Regions from separate parts of the Homo sapiens genome. Here region 2 is linked to region 1. The links are contacts of gene promoters, found by promoter capture Hi-C in human tissues and cell types (Jung and others, 2019). All regions are on one chromosome and are shown on one strand. The core of a region is centred on a gene start or on the middle of the fragment in contact, and the rest is flanking DNA. Distances in the headings are between cores, read along the strand shown.

The links. The method cuts DNA at HindIII sites, captures the fragments that hold promoters and counts their contacts. A contact is called where the count stands out against the background at its distance.
Region 2: a fragment that was not itself captured here is called in contact with the fragment with the promoter of RHOT2 in region 1 in 4 of the 25 tissues and cell types used here (dorsolateral prefrontal cortex, lymphoblastoid cells, spleen and 1 more).

Annotation. Positions count from the first base shown.
Region 1 is chr16:666,882-669,409 of GRCh38, forward strand. It overlaps RHOT2 (ras homolog family member T2), which reads left to right and starts at 1,251. Exons shown (of 19, transcript NM_138769.3): 1 at 1,251-1,355; 2 at 1,472-1,530; 3 at 1,607-1,688; 4 at 1,775-1,818. The coding sequence starts at 1,319. WDR90 (WD repeat domain 90) reads left to right here. Exons shown (of 41, transcript NM_145294.5): 40 at 24-108; 41 at 551-949. The coding sequence ends at 708. RefSeq lists an enhancer at 962-1,643 and silencers at 1,029-1,368, 1,429-1,528, 1,629-1,718. The HindIII fragment of the contact is 52,780 bases long and covers 1-2,528 here.
Region 2 is chr16:846,883-851,264 of GRCh38, forward strand. No RefSeq gene overlaps it. Among named protein-coding and RNA genes, the nearest start is that of GNG13, 48 kb to the left of the region's middle. The HindIII fragment of the contact is 6,946 bases long and covers 1-4,382 here.

The DNA.
Region 1 (2,528 bases), core at 1-2,500:
AGCCTCACGCTGGCTGCTCACAGGTGGTGGAGAAGATACCACTGCCCTTTTTTGCCATGTCCCTGAGCCTGTCCCCCGGGACCCACCTCCTGGCTGTTGGCTTTGCTGGTGAGTGCTGGTGGATGCAGTTTGGGCCTGTCTTAGGTGGGGGCCAAGTGGGCTGACTGGTGCCCTGTTCCAAGACAGGTGCCTCACCTGTGCCCCGGGCTCCTCGTCTCTGGGGTGGGGTGAGGACATCTGCCCTAGAGAGGGTCCTGGAGTCAGGAGATGATGAGGCAGGTGAGGAACCAGGCACAGCGCCCAGCACAGGGCCTGAATGCACGGGTGGCAGCGACTTTTAAGGAGGGAACTGGCCCAGCTGCAGGCCGACAGCCTGGCAGTGATGGACCCCCTAGTCCCAGTGGCACGTGGAGGGCACAGCCAGGAGCCCTTTTAGCACCAGCTCCCCCGACCAGCATCATGCCCAGTGGGGACAGTCTGGGTGGGTTGGGGGAGCCCTCTGAGTGCTGCCTGGTCCTGGCCCTGGCCCACCTGCACCGTCTACCCACAGAGTGCATGCTGAGGCTGGTAGACTGTGCCATGGGGACTGCCCAAGACTTTGCCGGCCACGACAACGCAGTGCACCTGTGCAGGTTTACACCGTCCGCCAGGCTGCTCTTCACGGCCGCCCGCAACGAGATCCTTGTGTGGGAGGTCCCCGGCCTCTGAGATGCAGCAGGGACTGTGGTGGTGGGCATCACGCCTGGTCATGCCAGGCACCTGGACACAGGCTTGGCAGAGGCGCCAGGTTGTCAATGGCCTCATGCTGGGACAGGCCAGGATTCACGTAAATCGCCTGGAGCAAGCTGTTGTAAATTTGGCGCCCTGTGAATACTTTCATACCTGTTGCCCTTTTGCCTAAGAAATCTTTAATGTTTCTATCTTGTAATAAACATGGGCATTTATTGCATTATTGCTGCATTGTTGCACTGGCTGTCTCTGGTCACTCCTGGCCTGAGCTCAGCCTCTGCCCGTCCCTTAATCGGCTGTTTGTCAAGGCCCCTGTGGTGCCGTGAAGCAATGGCCGCTCGGCCTGCCAGGGCGCCAGGACCCTGCGCTGTCCGCCGTGGCCGGCGCGTCCACACGGTGGCGCGCCGCACAGCCTGTCCGCTCTGGCCCGCCCGGCTCGCTGGTGCGGCTGTGCGGGCGGGGCCGGAAGTGTGGGGACAGCGCGGGGCCGAGAACCGGAAGTGCGGGGCGGGCGCGGGGGCAGAGCGAAAGGCTTGAGGACCAGGTCGGGGCCGGGTTCCGGGTCGGGGAGCGGCTCCGGGCGGCAGCTATGAGGCGGGACGTGCGCATCCTGTTACTGGGCGAGGGTAGGCGCCGGCCCGGGGGTCTCGGAGCTGCGGCGGCCGTGAGGCGGGGTGAGGGTCTCGGGGGTCGGGGGGCGCCGTGACCTTGGCCCTCGCGCTGACCGCCTCGCCCCGCGCAGCCCAGGTGGGGAAGACGTCGCTGATCCTGTCCCTGGTGGGCGAGGAGTTCCCCGAGGAGGTAAGGGGCACGCCCGCCGCGGGGGTGGGAGCGGGCCCAGCCGGGGGTCCCTGGTGAGCGCGCGGGTCCCTTGCAGGTCCCTCCCCGCGCGGAGGAGATCACCATCCCCGCGGACGTCACCCCGGAGAAGGTGCCCACCCACATCGTGGACTACTCAGGTAGCGGCCGTAGCCTCCCGGGGGCCCGGCCCGCAGCGGTCCGGCGGGCCTGCTGGGTCCGCAGTGGAGTCTCTTTGTCCCCCTAGAAGCCGAGCAGACGGACGAGGAGCTGCGGGAGGAGATCCACAAGGTACCCGTGGTGCGCGGGACGAGGGAGGGGCTGGGCGCGGGCTCGGCCTAATCCGCTTCGCAGCCTGGGGGATTGGACCGAGGTGCTCCGGGTGTCCTTGGCCCTGATAATTCTGTGACCTCCGCACTGAGGGTTGTCGGGGCCCCTACAGCGCACCCCGCTGGGAGCCGGCACCGCTCAGTCCAGTGGTGCTCCAGGGATAACAGGACCCTTCCCCGCGGGCTCTCCCTCCCTCCTGCCGGGGTGGCAGCAGCGTTTGCTCTTCCTGTGGGCTCTGTGTGCGCCACGTCCCCGTGCTGTGTGCTCCAGCCCACCGTCCCGGCCTCCGGGCACCCGGAGCTCCCAGTACCAGAGCACGTGTGCCGGGGACATCTCCAGGCAAGGGCACAGGCCACAGCCACCCAGGGCAGCCCCTGCTGTTGGCACCCCTCACTGCGGTCCTGTCACTCTGTCTGTAGCGAGGGGGGAGGCAGGGGCCAAGGCGGCGGCTGTCTTGCAGGGTGTTGGGTTGCAGGTGTGGCCGTGTCTGTCCTGAGCCCTCTGCTCCAAGGGTCTTGCTGACCACAGTTATGCTTCTGGGGCCTGGTGTCCCTGCACTGGCAGTGGGCGGGGAAGAGGCTTCTCTGAGGGTTCAGCAGCAGCTCCCAGTGTGACACTGGGGAGTGCCTGCTCTGCCAACACCAGGCTGGAGGCAGGTTTTAGGGAAGGCT
Region 2 (4,382 bases), core at 1,223-3,722, 180 kb after region 1:
CGTGTCTGTAATGCGTCCCGGTTTCCTGTAACCCGTGTGTGTCCCGTGTCTGTAATGCGTCCCGGTTTCCTGTAACCCGTGTGTGTCCCGTGTCTGTAATGGGTCCCGGTTTCCTGTAACCCGTGTGTGTCCCGTGTCTGTAATGTGTCCCGGTTTCCTGTAACCCGTGTGTGTCCCGTGTCTGTAATGGGTCCCGGTTTCCTGTAACCCGTGTGTGTCCCGTGTCTGTAATGTGTCCCGGTTTCCTGTAACCCGTGTGTGTCCCGTGTCTGTAATGGGTCCTGGTTTCCTGTAAAGCTGTGTGTGTCCCGTGTCTGTAATGTGTCCCGGTTTCCTGTAAACCCGTGTGTGTCCCGTGTCTGTAATGTGTCGCGGTTTCCTGTAAACCCCTGTGTGTCCCATATCATCTGGACTAGGTACCTTCTCCCAGCGGCCCGGGGTGCTGACCTGGCTCAGTGCCTCTTCTTTCCTTTGCTGAGTGTTCTTTCCTCTTTTTTGTTGTTCAGATGAGAGTCTGTTGATGTTCCTCCAGCATGTCCACATGGCTGCGGGTGAAGGGCTTCACAGTAGCCCACCGTGGGCAGGTGTTTAAGGAACAACTTCCAGGTTAGGAAAAAGATGAGGCAGAGGAGATGGCCCCACCTGCCACCCAAGAGAAAAAGAGGCTCAGGGAGGGGAGGAAAGGATGTTGCGGCCCGCCATCTGTCTGCACACCAACCGTCAGAGCTGACGGAAGCTTTCGCCAACTTGCTTCCAGCAATGGGCCAACGACAATCAAGGCGGCTATGACGGCCAGTCCAGGGCTGGTTTGAAAGCTGTAACAGTTTGGACAGTGTGGTATGACCTGGGCAGGTATAGATCACACTGGGTCAGGTGTAAACCCTAGAACGGTGAGCCACCAACCCAGACTCAGCGGGTCAGCTGCGGCCCCTGGCCAGGCGGCCCAGGCAAAGTAAGGTGGCCGCAGCCCTGCAGGGAGGGTGGCACTGTCCGCAAACCCTCCCGGTGCCCCGGGTTCCCCAATGCGCTCAGACCTGGGGGTGGGCACGGAGGCCCCCCAGCCTTCCCCTGCCTAGTGCCTGGGGTGCTTCTTCCCAGCGCCTGGAGGTTTCCATCCCTCCCGCACACAGCGCTTGGAGCAAGATGGGAGGGAGGTGCCTGCTTGCTGCCTCCTGCTGGTGTGTGGGAGCCCAGGTGAACACTGGGTGGTGCGGAAAGCCACCAGCGTGATGTGGGAAGGCCATTTGCTAAGCGCCAGGTGGGCCCGGGTGTGGGCTGGGTGGGCAGCCTGGCTCGCGGCGTAAGGGGCAAGCTATCCAGGCAGCAGTGGGCTGAGAATTGCCGGCATCACCTGTCATTTGCTCGCGTGGTCCTCAGTGAATCAAAGTTTGCATGTCCGTGACTGCGGCCATCATCAGAGCTTGTGGGACCACTGGTGGCTCCGTACGGCACTTTCGGGTTAACCAGCATCCAGGTGCACTGAGCCTTGGTCTTAAGCGGCTCCAGCCCCATGCACGCCACAGAGAAGGAGTGAAGCGCGTTCCCTGCCCGGCATCCTGAGCCCCACTGGACCTTCTGGCAGGGTGAGGGTCTGGGCCCTGAGGCAGGGAGGCCCAGGGTCTCAGGACGCTTAAGACACTCTGCTTTGCTTTGCTGTATTTCAAAACATTGAGGTGAAGTTGACATTTACATAAAATTAACCACTTAAAGGTCAGCAGTGTGGTGCACGTAACACATTGGCCACACGCACAACCAGCATCTCTGCCTAATTCCAGATATTTTCATCACCCGCCAGAGAACCTTCTGGACCTGTGAGCCGTCATGCCCGCTCTCCCTGTTCCTGCCAGCAGCCCCGAGAGCCGTCCACCTTCTCCCTGCCCAGCGTCTCTGTGGGTTTCCCTGTTCTGGACATTCCAGAGACGGCATCGCAGGACCGGTGCCCTCTGTGTCTGGCGGGTTCACTGGGCATCAGGTTCTCAAGGCTCATCTGAGCGTCGGGGCCTCGCTCCTCTTTGCGGCTGCGTAATGCTCATGGGTGAGCACACCTGGTCTGTTCATCTGGGCTGTCCCCACCTCTGGGCTGCTGCAAACGTTCCGGTGCAAGCACACCCAGGTCCCCGTTTCCCGCTCTCCCGGGTCTACATGCAGATGTGGAGTTGCGGGGTCACGTGGTTCCCGTTTCTAGCTCTCCCAGGTCTACGTGCAGACGTGGAGTTGCGGGGTCACGTGGTCCCCGTTTCTAGCTCTCCCGGGTCTCCGTGCAGACGTGGAGTTGCGGGGTCACGTGGTCGCCGTTTCTAGCTCTCCCGGGTCTACGTGCAGACGTGGAGTTGCGGGGTCATGTGGTCATCCGTCTACACTGAACATTTCGAGGAACCCCCAGACAGTCTCCACGTGGCCACATCATTCTGATGCATGGCAGACGAGCCCGAAAGAGGAGCTTAGTCCCAGAGGGTTCTTGGCTTTGCCCAGGAAAGAATTCAAGGTCGAGCCAGAGGTGGAAGGAAACAGCTTTACTTCAGAGGTGGGGTTACAGCTGTGGCTGCTCCCGCAGGGCAGGGCTTCCACAGACAGCAGCCCGGGGCAGCTCTGCAGTCTCACTTATAGCCACAGTTTTTTTTTTTAAAGACAGAATATTACTCTATTGCCCAGGCTGGAGTGCAGTGGTACGGTCTCAGCTCACTGCAACATCTGCCTCCCGGGTTCAAGCGATTCTTCTGCCTCAGCCTCCCGAGTAGCTGGGACTACAGGTGCCTGCCACGCCAGGCTAATTTTTGTATTTTTGGCACAGACGGGGTTTCACTATGTTGGCCAGGCTGGTCTCAAACTCCTGACTTCAGGTGATCCGCCTGCCTTGGCCTCCCAAAGTGCTGGGATTACAGGTGTGAGCCACTGTACCCGGCCAGAAATGTCAAATTTTGATGAAGTCCAATTTATTTTCTGTGTTGTTGCCGGTGCTGTTGTTGTCATATCCAAGAAAACACTGCCAAATCCAATGTCCTTAAGATTTTCCCAGGTTTTATTCTGAGTCTTACAGTTTTAGCTCTTACATTTAGGTGTTTCATCCTATGTTTTTTGGGTTAATTTTTGTGTATGCTGTTAGGTAAGGGGCCAGCTTCATTCATTATTTTGCATGTGGAGATAAAGCTTTCCCAGTACCATTTGCTGAAAAGGCTGTCCTCTTCCCATTGAATGGTCTCAGAGCCTTTGTCGGAAGGTACCAGGCCACGTGTGGGACAATTTCTTGGGTCATTCTCATCGGAAGGTACCTGGTTGTTCTCGTTGGAAGGTGCCTGGTTGTTCTTGTCGGAAGACACCTGGTTGTCCTCGTTGGAAGGTACCTGGCTGCGTGTGGGACGATTTCTTGGGTCGTTGTTGTCAGAAGGTACCTGGTTGCATGTGTGGAATGATTTCTCGGGTTGTTCTCATCGGAAGGTACCTGGTTGTTCTCATCGGAAGGTACTGGTTGTTCTCGTTGGAAGGTATGTGGCCGTGTGTGGGATGATTTCTCGGGTTGTTCTCATTGGAAGGTACGTGGCTGCATGTGGGACAATTTCTCGGGTCATTTTCGTCGGAAGGTACCTGGTTGTTCTTGTCGGAAGGTACCTGGTCGTTCTCGTTGGACGGTACCTGGCCGCGTGGGGGATGATTTCTGTGGTTGTTGTTGTCAGAAGGTACCTGGTTGCATGTGTGGAATGATTTCTCGGGTTGTTCTTGTCGGAAGGTACCTAGTTCTCGTCGGAAGGTATGTGGCCGTGTGTGGGATGATTTCTCGGGTTGTTGTCATTGGAAGGTACGTGGCTGCGTGTGGGACGATTTCTCGGGCTGTTCTCGTCAGAGGTACCTGGCCGCATGCGTGGGACGATTTCTCAGGTTGTTCTCATTGGAAGGTACCTGGCCACGTGTGTGGGACGATTTATTGGGTTGTTCTCGTCGGATGGTACTTGGCCACATGTGGGACGATTTCTCTGGCCGTTCTCGTCAGAAGGTACCTAGCCGTGTGTAGGACGATTTCTCGGGTTCTTGTCGGACGGTACCTGGCCGCATGTGGGATGATTTCTCGGGTTGTTCTCATCGGACAGTACCTGGCCGTGTGTGTGGGACGATTTCTCGTGTTGTTCTCATTGGGCGGTACCTGGCCGCATGTGGGACGATTTCTCGGGTGGTTACTGTGCCCCGTTTATCTCTAGGTCTCCATGCTGCTGTGATACTGTTTTGACGAGGGAGCTTTCTTTTCTGCCACTGTGGGCCAGCTGCTGCCGTCTGTGGTATTCTTGTGTGTTGCTGATCTGAAGCTCCAAAGCTGCCATTCTCCCAAACCTTCCTGCTCAGATGAGGACCTGGGCAGTCTGAGACCTCCAAGCTGCAGTGAGAATGGCTGA